3 separate regions of the Homo sapiens genome follow, and regions 1 and 3 are each linked to region 2. Evidence: promoter capture Hi-C in 16 types of primary human blood cells and fetal thymus (Javierre and others, 2016). All regions are on one chromosome and are shown on one strand. The core of a region is centred on a gene start or on the middle of the fragment in contact, and the rest is flanking DNA. Distances in the headings are between cores, read along the strand shown. Region 1 overlaps ERN1 (endoplasmic reticulum to nucleus signaling 1). Region 2 holds the start of TEX2 (testis expressed 2). Region 3 overlaps ERN1 (endoplasmic reticulum to nucleus signaling 1).

Region 1 (4,141 bases), core at 579-3,078, 160 kb after region 2:
TCAATGTAGTGAAACTCCCGACTCTACAAAAAATTTAAAAATTGGCCAGGCTGGTGTCACACACCTGTAGTCCCAGCTACTTGGAAGACTGAGGGGAGAGGATTGCTTGAGCCTCAAGGCTGCAGTGAGCTCTGATCGCTCAACTGCACTCCCACCTGGGTGACAAAGACCTCATCTCAGGAAAAAAGAAGAAAAAAGAGAGAGGGATGTACAGTTGGGTTGGACTTGATCCATTTACATGCCACCTGAGAAGTGTGTGACTCTCTTGTTCACAATCGTAGGTTTTCTGTGTGTGTGTGTGTGTACACGCCTTTTTTTTTGCAGGGATAAGATGCTCCAGTTTTGTAAATGGAGCAGAGATTATAAACCTCGTTAAGTATAGATCACTGGAAAACTGTGGGTATGGAACACGTGTGCATGACACTGTATCTTGCCATTGACTTAGAGGTGAAAAGTCTGTGCCATTTTAATGATCTTATTTCTGACCCTTTTTTTTTGAGATGGAGTCTCTCTCTGTCACCCAGGCTGGAGTGCAGTGGTGCGATCTTGGCTCACTGCAACCCCTTCCTCCTGGATTCAAGCGATTCTCCTGACTCAGTCTCCTGGGTGGCTGGGATTACAGGTGTGCACCACCACGCCTGGCTAATTTTTGTATTTTTAGTAGAGACAGGGTTTCACTATGTTGACCAGGCTGTTCTCGAACTCCTGACCTCAGGTGATCCACCTGCCTGGGCCTCCCAAAGTGCTGGGATTACAGGCATTAGCCACCACACCTGGCCCTGACCCTTGTTATCAGGTAGTCAACCTGGGAATCAGTTCTTGAAATGTATGTCTGAAATTGACAAGCTGCATTTTTTTTTTTGGCAAAAGCAACATTTCTGAAACCCCTGATAAGGAACATTCAGCTTTCACACGTTCTGAATCTCAGAGGAGCTTGCAGGGTCTTCCCTGCTGTACTTACCATTGCAGGGGGCAACAAGGCAGTGGTAAGTGGAAACAAACCAAAACTTCAGTGATAAGGCTGCTGAAATCAAGCCCTGTGTTTTTTGTTTGTTTATTTGTTTGTTTTATTTTGAGACAGAGTCTGGCTCTGTTGCTCAGGTTAGAGTGCAGTAGCACTGTCTTGGCTCACTGCAACCTTTGCTTCCCAGGCTCAAGCAATCCTCCCTCCTTGGCTTCCTGAGTAGCTGGGACTACATACATAAACCACAACACCTGGCAAATTAATTTTTTTTTTTTTGTCAAGATGGGGTCTCCCTATATTGCACAGGCTGGCCTGAAACTCCTGGGTTCAAGCAATCCTCCTGCCTGGGCCTCCCAAAGTATTGGAATTACAGGCGTGAGTCACCATGCCCAGGAAGCTGTGGTTTTTTTGCTGGTTGTTCTCTAGCCACTGATGAGCTTGCCTCCCTGCCTGACCAGTCAGTCCCAAATGCAAGTTTAGAAACTGGTGGTTTTTTGTTAGAGGCCATTTCATTTGTTTTTGTGCTGTTTGAACACCTGTCTGCCCCTGTGTCCATAATTCTCTTTACTGAAAACTTTTTCTAAATGAAGTTATTTCAGAAGGCATTTAAGAAAATATTTTTTTCTTACCTGAAATATATATAAGTAGTTAATTAATGGAAGAGCCCTAACAATTAGCTGAATTCACAATATTAGGGAATGATTAAATTGTTGGTGATGTACCTTTCAATCATCTCTGCATAAGCAGTTGATAGCCACTTCTGTATCTTTGTAGTAAATGCAGAGTGAATGGTGGATTTTATGAATGGGGAAGCTGCTGGATTTTGTGTAACATTGCTTTTTTTTTTTTTTTTTTGAGATGGAGTCTTACTCTGTTGCCCAGCCTGGAGTGCAGTGGCGTGATCTCGGCTCACTGCAGCCTCCGCCTCCTGGGTTCAAGCGATTCTCCTGCCTCAGCCTCCCAAGTAGCTGGGATTACAGGTGACTGCCACCACATCCAGCTAATTTTTGTGTTTTTAGTAGAGACAGGGTTTCACCATGTTGGCCAGGCTGGTCTTGAATTCCTGACCTCAAGTGATCCGCCCACCTCGGCCTCCCAAAGGTGCTGGGATTACAGGTGTGAGTCACCACGTCCAGCCGTAACATTGCTTTATGATCAGAACATTGAACATCAGGATCCAGTGCTGGTCTTGTGTTGGCTTTCATAGGAGGGAGACTTGCTGCAGTCCAGCTGAGTAGGGCTGCAGTGAGGACCCTTATACTGCTGAAGCCCACTGAGTGACACATGCTGGACAGAGTCTGATGTCTGTGGGGACCAATTAGCTAATGGATGTTTAGTTTTAGGCTAGACTAGATGCCTGCCACTACCCTTCCCACCCTCCACAGTTACTGTTGGTTACTTCCTACAAGTCACCATCAAAGCCAGGAGTATATATTCCACTTTTTTTTTTTAACCTCCCAACTACTAGTTTTAAAACTGAATCAAATTTCAAATGGTTGTTAACTTGAAACAGATCTGCAGACTCGACATTTTCTTTCCATTTTCAGGCTCTCTGGAAACCAGTGTGTGTGCCGTAGGGTATGTTGCTTGTAGAGAAAAGTGAGCACTGAGGACTGAAATGGCTGGGCAAAGACAAGGCACAAGTTCATCTTTGTGAAGCAGCGTTTTTCAGTGTTCAGGTACAAATAGTTCTCAGCTGTGCTCAGTATCACACAAGGCATCTGGAAACATGTTTAATTCATGTTAGCTATAGCAACTACATTTGAACTCAGGCATGTTCATGCTTTTAAAAATGCCAGAGGGGAAAAAGCCAGAAAATTTGTCATTTTTGTTTGCCTTATGAGAGAATAACACTGTTCCGAGTGGCTCCCAGGAGTTTCGATTTGGTACAGTTGAGAGCCTTGAGAAGAACCTGCCAGTTGTAATAGTTTGTGGCATTTCTGTAGACATTGTGATTGACAGAATTCTCAGTTGCCAAATTCAGCTTCTCTCTAAACTTTGTATTTTTGAGATTTTTCCAAGACTAAATTAGTCATGTGATTAGTGTTGTTGTTGTTTTTGTTTTTGAGACAGAGTCTTGCTCTGTTGCCTAGGCTGGAGTGCAATGGTATGATCTTAGCTCACTGCAACCTCTGCCTCCCGGGTTCAAGCAATTCTCCTGCTTCAGCCTCCCAAGTAGCTGGGATTGCAGGTGTCTGCCACCAGGCCTGGCTGATTTTTTAGTATTTTTTTTTAGTACAGACGGGGTTTCACCATGTTGACTAGGCTGGTCTCAAACTTCTGACCTCAGGTGATCCACCCACCTCGGCCTCCCAAAGTGCTGAGATTACAGGCATGAGCCACCGGTCCCGGCCATGATTAGTGTTTTATTTTGATCCATAAACCAATTGTAGAATGTTGCTCTTCCAGTGGCTTCCAAGATGCTCAGACAAGGCAGGTGGCTTTTGTTTCCACTAGTGCTTCCACTAGTAGCAAAGGAGCACTGATATGTTTTGGTGAATATTAACCCTTTTTAATATTAATACTGTGATAAGATATACTTGGGGGCACTTAGTTCATTATGGTTGTACTGTAGGCTTTAATAACAGCAAACTCTTCTTATTCTTGGATGCATACATTCTTATTGGGAGACCCCTGTGTTTCTAAACTCTGGTCCCTTGTTTGGTGGAGATTAATGATCAAAGGTGGTTGACTTGCCTACTATCCTGAGGTGGAAAGTGCTTCATGTGGAACTTAGGCACTTGCTGAAGCTCCTTCGAATTCAAGCTTCTCTCCTACCTGCTAGCTTGTCCATCTCCTTTCTACTTTGTGAAAACTTCTACTTTGTGAAAAATTTGCTAATCTACAGATTAGCAAATCATATTATTGGAAGTTTAAAAAATGAGAAAAGAAGAAATATTGCTATAATTTTGCAGTATTGTTTTCCCTTTCTTTTTTTTTTGGAGACAGAGCCTCGCTCTATCCCCCAGGCTGGCGTACAGTGGCGTGATCTCAGCTCACTGCAACCTCCACCTCCTGGGTTCAAGTGATTTCTTCTGCCTCAGCGTCTCTAGTAGCTGGGATTACAGGCACCCACCACCACGCCCGGCTAATTTTTGTATTTTTAGTAGAGACGAGGTTTCGCCATGTTGGCCAGGCTGGTCTCGAACATCTGACCTCAAGTGATCTGCCTGCCTC
Region 2 (3,935 bases), core at 1,252-3,751:
TCCATCTCAAAAAAAAAAAAAAAAAAAAAGGTAGGAAACATTATTGTGTTATGATATGTTCATTTATTTTTCAATGCATCCAAATTCCTCAGATTTCAAAAAGAAGGGATCCTTCTAAGTGTTCATGCTGGATCTTACTGGCTTCTAGTTTGAGATCTGGTTGGTAGTGTATTAATTAATTTAATGCTTACGTGGAGCTTGGTAGGGAAAGGAGGTTGGTGGGCACTCTGAGAGGCACATTGCCAGCTTCCAAGGACCTTTGCAAGGGGCAGCTCCAGGGCCCCTACCCTTTCTCTCTCTCTCTCCCTGAGGCAGGGGGCTGAAGATGTGGCCAAGGAGAGCTTCAGGCTGTGTCTCCATTGGTAACTGCCTTTGTTGCACATTTCCAGAAAACCACAACTGGAAACCTCTTCTGTTGGGACATGAATTCTTTTTCCTTTGGGAAGGGCAACAGAAGCAAGTGGTGATCCCAGGCAGTAATGCCTGCAGCCCAGAGACTGCATTCTCATGAGGCTGATCAATCCTTGTGCAGAGTTGTCCCTGGCAACACAACATCCATCAGAAATCACAGCACAAACAGGGTTATTGTGTGGAGGCCATTCCAAGAGCCTGAGATCTGTGTGGGAGGCAGCTGACCTGCAAGATCTAGTGGGCGAGGGCTGACCTCCAAGTCTGAGGACAATGACTTCTGGGTCAGGCAGGTGTCTGGGATACTAGGAAGGGGAGAGGAATGTTGCCAGGAGGGTAGGCAGGGCTTGCTGGCATTGGAATGAGGCACCAGAGTAGCAGGGCATTCTTCTGGGATCATGACTGGGCCTGGTGGTGAGCCGGAGTGTGTCTGCCATTAAGATATTTATGCACTGTCTCACGGGTCAGAGAACTAGCCTGGCTTCCCTCTGCTTGAGGCATCAAATCTTCTTCCTGCTTGAGGATTTCAATCTTTCAGATGTTGTTTCATCTGGGTCCAGTGCCCTTCTACACTCAGTTCTTGGCATGACTTATTCTGTTATGAGTGTCTTAGTAGGTGACCTCCTCCCTTACTAGCAAGTCTCCCAACCATATTACTAATTCTGAGGATGAAAGGAGTTTGGCTTTCATTTTGCCAATTGAATTTGAATTTCATGACTATGATAGACTCAAAACACGCACCTGAGTGTGGTCCTTGTACCACTTGCATTAGAATCACCTGGAGGGAGGGGTGTCGAAGGCCATCTCAGACTTACTGAATTACAGGTTCTGGGGTGGGACTTAGAGATCTTCATGTTAAAACCCTCCAGGATGATCTGACGTTGAAGATCTGACATTTGGGACCCACTAATGCAGGAGACACACTGACACATCTGTTTGTTGTCTTGGTCCTTTCTTGTGGTGGGTGGGAAGTGCAGAGGGGCAAGGACTACGGGGGAAGGGGGAACTCTCCCTATGTGCCAGTGCTTCTGCCAGCCAACCCAGGTTCGCAGAAGATAAATGCACAATGGGCATTGCCATCCCAGGAAGCTCATTCTAAGTGAGAATTTACCTCGAGAAGTCACTTTACCTCTCTGAGCCTCAGATATTGCCTCTCTAAAAATGAGTAGTTAATACTATATAAGTTCTAAGCTCTAAGAACTCGTGGCCAGGCGCGGTGGCTCACGCCTGTAATCCCAGTACTTTGGGAGGCTGGGTCCGGCGGATCACGAGGTCAAGAGACCGAGACCATCCTGGCCAACATGGTGAAACCCCGTCTCTACTAAAAATACAAAAATTAGCTGGGCATGGTGGCACGCGCCTGTAATCCCAGCTACTCGGAAGGCTGAGGCAGGAGAATCGCTTTAACCCAGGAGGCGGAGGTTGCAGTGAGCCCAGATGACGGCACTGCACTCCAGCCTGGCGACAGAGCGAGACTCCGTCTCAAACAAAAAAACTAGTAACAGAGTTAGTTCAGGATAGGATGTGGTAGTGTGGTAGTCAGGTGGGGGAAGTACATAATGCGGGAAACTGGGAATTTGCCTTTTTAAATCAATGTCTGCAGTTGGATGGGGATAGATACGTCTGATGGCCCTCTAAAATGCAAATCGAGTGAATTTGCCCAGGGGGATACCCCTGGTTCTCCGCGCCTCAGTCACCCCACCTCAACCCCCAGCCCTCGTCTCAAGGGCACTTGTTGCTGCTAGACTGCAGGAAGAGGAAATTAAGAAGTGCAAAGAGCTGGGGACAGTGTGCAGCCCCGTTGGGAGAGTGAAGCTTTTGTCCCCCTCACCTGGGGCTCTTCCAGGTAACCCTCCCCACCACTCCTCTCCCTAGCTCCAAGGGCGGTGGCCCCTTTAACAGACCTGACAAATCGCTCCCCCATTTCCGCGGCCTCACCTCGGCGCGCGGTAGAACTGGATTGGTTGGGCCTGGCGTGCCGTTTGCTCCGCCCCCGCGCCCTCTGGTTGGCGGCGGCGGCCGCGGGCGCGGGGCGGGTCCGCCGGCGGGGCGGGGCGGCGTGTGCCCGGGGGCGGGCGGGCGGCAGGGCAGCAGGACCGCGGCCGGTGCCCCAGCCGAAGCCGGAGTCGCGCGGCCGGGAGCACGGGCGCCGGCATAGTACAATGAGGCAGCCAGCGGATCTTGGGTGAGCAGTCTCAGGGCCAGGCGGGGGCGGTGGAGGGAGCGCCCCGCGGATAAGGCCCGGGCTGGGCGCGGATCGACCCCGCGGGCTTCAAAGTACCGGTCGGGTCCGGCGGCCCTTGGCGTGGCGGGGCTCGGCCCCCCACCCCGCTGTCATGGTTCAGGTATTGAAGGGGACGCCCACCCGCGACACCCCCGGGCAATCCCTTCCTTCGGGGCCCCGCCGGATGGCTCGGGCTCGACTCCGGCGGGAGGAGCTGCCGGCCCCGTCCCCTCAGCCTGCGGTCCCCGGCCCCGGGCAGGGAGGCACCGTCACGCGCAAACTAGAGGAAAACGGCTTGCAATTTTATGAATGGGGCCCCGGGTTCCTGCCGCCCCCCTCACCGGCGACGCGAAATGCTTGAAAGTCGAGAACCGCAGTTACTTTTACTCGAATCTGTCAGAGGTTGTATGCGCCCCGGTGGTTTTTCTCCAACTCCTGGAGAACGCGGGTGGCGGTGGGGTGGTTTGTGTGCTTTAGCAGGGAGGCGGCGGCGTGCCGAAATCCGGGGGATCGGAAGGTTAACAAGTGACATTGGGCTGAGGCCTAGCGCCAGGTGCCTTGCGGGGAGGCGGTGTGGCCGTGGACGCCGTCGCTGCTGGCTGCTGAGCACGGAAACCATACGGTGGAACCGGAGAAGGCGGGGAACGGCTGGCCACATTGCACCACACGCTGCCTAGAGCGTACGGCTGCCATGGGAGTTGGTGCAGGGGAGTCTTCCCCTTTTGAAAACGATTTTTGGAAAACTTAGCCCCTCAGTGGGTTGATAGTTACTTAAACCATCGGTTGTTATGGTTACTGGGCGTCAAATGTAAGGGCAAAGTCTGTTTCCACCCTCGCTCTTTCTCCAGAGCTATGAAGTACTTTGTCACTGTGTTTTACAGACACTGTCCAGGGAGGACATCCTTTTTTAGAGTTGAGGGAAAATTGTGGGCTCCTTGAGGGCAGGGCTCGTGCCACGTTCACGTTTGAAGTGCCAGCGTCTTCACACCATCACCGCTCTGCACATGCATTAAAAGGAATGAGGCTTTTACATGTTTTGAGGATTCTCAGAGGATTCAGAGGAGTCATTTCAGGAGCCAGGTGTAAGCTGGAGGGGAAACAACGAGTGACTTTTATATGGAAAACAATAAGGAAAAATGGAGGGCAGGTTATCCTTGAACTCTGGAGTATGGGGAGTTTGAGGAGTCTAGGTTTGTGAGTTTTAGGGCTGGGTCACACAGAGACGCTTGTCTCATATTGGAAGAATGAAACTGCCATTTCTGTTAGCTCTTACCTAGCCCATAAACAATATTCTTTCAGATTC
Region 3 (3,927 bases), core at 198-2,697, 190 kb after region 2:
AATAACATCCACAGTGGAGTGGAAAAATAAACTCTGGAAGCGGCATGCACGGTGATGAGGACCAACAGTCTATGACGACACACGCCGCGGATGACTCACAAGCGTGATGTTGAGCAAAACATGACAGACAAAAAAGGCCACACGCTGCCATTCACTTATGTAAAGCCAAAAACAGGAAAAACGAGTCTCTGCTGTTTTGAAGTTAGGATAATAGTTACCCCTGGAGAGTTATGGCTAGAAAGGGGGGCAAGAGAGGAGGGGGGCTTCTGTTTCTTCACCTGGATGCCGGTTACGTGGGTATGTTCACTTTGTGAAACTTGACTGAGCTGTGTGATGATGAGTGCTTTTCTGTTTGCGTATTATGCATCAGTAGGAAGTTTTTAAAGCTTCCAAGTAATTCTCATGGGCAACCAAGGATGAGAACCACTGATCTAGGCTGTAAGTGGATTGTGGACTTTAACTTGGGTGTTTTAAAATTATTTTGTGAATGCCTGTGACCAAAACAGAGGGGAGGAGGGCAAGTTTGTATAGAGCTGTGTGTATTTCACCTTCAACACTGCTCTCCGTTGGTTTCTCTCCACAGCTCTGTAGTCCCCATTTCTTAAGCAATTTGTTTGCCAGAAACTGGGGTGAGTGAGTTGTATAAGTTATCTCATTGGAATCTCTCAGCAGCCCTGTGGGTGATATCCCCGTTTTAGAGGTGTGGAAACAGCCTGGAGAAGTGAAGGAATATGTCCAGGGCTGAGTCTTCTAGTGTTGGAGTTGGTTCTTAAAGAGGATGCCCAGCCGGGCCTGTAATCCCAGCACTTTGGGAGGCCGAGGCGGGCGGATCACAAGGTCAGGAGATCGAGACCATCCTGGCTAACACGGTGAAACCCCGTCTCTACTAAAAAATACAAAAAATTAGCCAGGCGCAGTGGCGGGCGCCTGTAGTCCCAGCTACTTGGGAGGCTGAGGCAGGAGAATGGCATCAACCCGGGAGGCGGAGCTTGCAGTGAGCCGAGATCACGCCACTGCACTTCAGCCTGGGTGAGAGTGAGACTCCGTCTCAAAAAAAAAAAAAAAGAGGATGCCCTTCATCACTCCCTTGTGCTCCTTTCTGGGTTGTGGTTTAGCAGCTCCAGAAACAATGTTTCCCAAGCTTGGGCCTTGAATCAGGGCACCAGTGGCAGTGCTCAGCAGAGACCACAGGACTCCAGAAGACTAGAAGATCTGCAGTGCCTTTCTGATTCTCAGAAACACATGGCAAAACCCAGTCATTGCAGCCTCTCTGAAGCATTTTTCCTCCTCTGAGGCTTGGTTTGAATGTTGGGATGATGGGAAAATCCAAGTTATTTAGTATGCAAAGCTCTGCTTATTAAAGCTAGAGAGAAATCTTTTCTTTCTTGGAGAAAAAGGTGACCATGCAGTAGAGGCATTTCTATAAAAGCAGGTATCTATAGAACAATTTCAAAAACACAGAATGTTCTAAAAATAAAGTATACTGAAACAAGCATTAACCAAAAGAGCTCGTCAGATGTCAGCTGTAGACTCAGAAGAATCAGTTTTATGATGAAATGCAGTTGAAACATTTGGATTCCTTTGAGTTTCTTTTCCTGGCACCTATCTTAACTTCCTCTTTAAAACCAAAAGTCTCAATTTTTCTTGTTTTTCAATAGTGAATTATTTACTGAAGAAAACATCAAAACTCTTTTCCACCTCAAACTCTTGTGTTGCCCCTGTAATGGCGACTTCTCCTTTCCCTCGAAGCTTGAGCTTGGCACCAAGGTTGCATCCCTTCAGCATCAATGTCCTGGCTCCCTCCCATGGGGCTCTACAAAGCACTGTCATTTTACTCAGTCTAGCCAGCTCTGGCTCTGTATTCCAAGCCAGGACAATTCTTTCTTAGCATTTCAAAGAATATATAACTCTCCATATTTGTGTAAATCTTTTCAGAAAAGGTTTGTGTCACCCCTGGGAAGCACCCTGGACAGGAGACCTTGAGGGGCCTCTGCACATGGTGTCAAGTAAAGGAGTGGATGTTTACAGAGCTCAGGGACCTGGGAGCTTGTCAAAATAGATGTGGAAAATTAGCTGGGTGTAGTGGCAACATGCCTGTAATCCCAGCTACTTGGGAGGCTGAGGTGAGAGAATCACTTGAACCCAGGAGGCAGAGGTTGCAGTGAGCCAAGATGGTGCCACTGCACTCCAGCCTGGGCGACAGAATGAGACCCTGTCTCAAAAAAATGAAAATAAAAACACAGTAGATGTGGAAGCATAGGGTGCCCCCTTCTCCTTTGTATTCAGTTAGGAAAACTCTCATCTGCAAAGTGCTTCTCTCTTTTTAGCAGAATTAGGTAATAGAAACAAACTGCCTGGTAAAATTGTAATAATTGCACAAGACTTGGTTAACTTTTTTTTTTCTTTTTTTTTTTTTTTAAAGAAACTTCCTTTTACCATCCCAGAATTGGTGCAGGCATCCCCATGCCGAAGTTCAGATGGAATCCTCTACATGGGTAAGAGTTCCTGTCTCCAGAAACTTGTGTCTCTTTGATGTAAGTCCCGGAATCTGGGAAAGTGGCATGCGGAGAGAGAGGGCGCAGTCACCGCCTTGCCAACCCTTTCTTTCCTGGGTTGTGCTTCAGGTGCTGTTCTCCCCAGGATCAGCTGACCAATTAAGAAAGGGCTCCCCCAACTTGGGAGAAGAATTGACATCATTAATATGGTTACTCATTTAACAAGCTTTTAGTTGCTGTGTTGACTTAGTCCTGAGATTCCAAGATTGCAACATACCCAGTGGCAAATGGATGAAATTTAAAGTGAGTACAATCATCTAAGCCAAGGAAGGAAAGCCAGGCTCTGCCTGTTAATTATAGCGCTTTCTTAGTATTTCCTGCTATCAGAATGTTTGATAGAACAGCACTTAATAGCTTGCCTAGATAAACTGCCTTCATACCTATGGGGTCACAGCTTTCAAAGCATCAGATCACCTGCTTTTCTTTTACTATGTTGCTGCCAAAATGTCAATAAAAAAGCATTTGCAACACAAAGGAGAGCTGTATTTATCTTGAAATCATAGTAGCAATAATAGCCCGTATTTATACAGCAGCTTTCTTTTTGAGGAACTGAAAGTGCTTATTGCCTATTCATGCCTCGAGGAGCTTTATGTGTATTTCTGGGTCTCAAGTGCAGGCCAGACTTTTAAGGTTTTGCTCAGGACACTGAGACTCTTGCTTCCTTCCACACCTTCAGAATGAGGAACTCCCAGCCTAGGAATTTGGAGGAAACGATCGGCACAGATTTTTCTCTCTGTGGGCCGTGACCTGGGAACATCTGATAATCTTCTGACCATCCATGTCACTGTGTCCTATCTGGTCTTCCAGCTTTTGCCAGCAATTCATCACTTATAGTCTGCTTAGGATATTGTCTTCTTATCATCTTTGTGCTGTGGCCTCTTAGGCGAGTTCATTAAACATATTTAAGAGCATGGTAGTTGCCCAATCTACCCATTAAAGTAATAACTGAGTTATGTAAACTCTAGTGGTTCTTGAAGTAACCAGCTATGTCATGCTAGATGGAAAAGGTTCGTGGTCCTAGCTCTGTTCTCCTCTACCTTCAGATCATATTCATATTATGATTTTGTCAGTGAGAACAGAGTTGCGATCCATGGGTAAGTTGCACACATGTGGAGCAGGCATGTATGCAACATCTGTTAGAACTTTAGAGGTATAGCATTAGCAAATTACAGGCCAGGTGCAGTGGCTCACAACTGTAATCCCAGTACCTTGGGAGGGTGAGGCAGGAGGTTTGCTTGAGGCCAGGAGTTTGAAACTAGCCTGGTCAACATAGTGAGACCCCGTCTCTACAGAAGAAACATTTTTAAAAAATCAGCCAGGTGTAGGCCAGGTGCAGTGGCTCACGCCTGTAATCCCAACACTTTGGGAGGCT

The links. Contacts are between HindIII fragments. The CHiCAGO score rates a contact against its expected background, and 5 or more counts as called.
Region 1: a fragment that was not itself captured here is called in contact with the fragment with the promoter of TEX2 in region 2 in 1 of 17 cell types (monocytes); the score reaches 5.8 in monocytes.
Region 3: a fragment that was not itself captured here is called in contact with the fragment with the promoter of TEX2 in region 2 in 1 of 17 cell types (endothelial precursors); the score reaches 5.0 in endothelial precursors.

Annotation. Positions count from the first base shown.
Region 1 is chr17:64,101,175-64,105,315 of GRCh38, reverse strand. The region is part of intron 1 of ERN1 (endoplasmic reticulum to nucleus signaling 1); the gene reads left to right. Among named protein-coding and RNA genes, the nearest start is that of ERN1, 27 kb to the left of the region's middle. RefSeq lists an enhancer at 1,192-1,241. The HindIII fragment of the contact is 3,808 bases long and covers 1-3,732 here.
Region 2 is chr17:64,261,826-64,265,760 of GRCh38, reverse strand. TEX2 (testis expressed 2) reads left to right here and starts at 2,501. Exons shown (of 12, transcript NM_001288732.2): 1 at 2,501-2,593. RefSeq lists a silencer at 2,304-2,913. The HindIII fragment of the contact is 6,481 bases long and covers 2,226-3,935 here.
Region 3 is chr17:64,073,743-64,077,669 of GRCh38, reverse strand. It overlaps ERN1 (endoplasmic reticulum to nucleus signaling 1), which reads left to right. Exons shown (of 22, transcript NM_001433.5): 5 at 2,423-2,495. Among named protein-coding and RNA genes, the nearest start is that of ERN1, 54 kb to the left of the region's middle. RefSeq lists silencers at 2,427-2,721, 3,205-3,264 and an enhancer at 2,905-2,984. The HindIII fragment of the contact is 608 bases long and covers 1,144-1,751 here.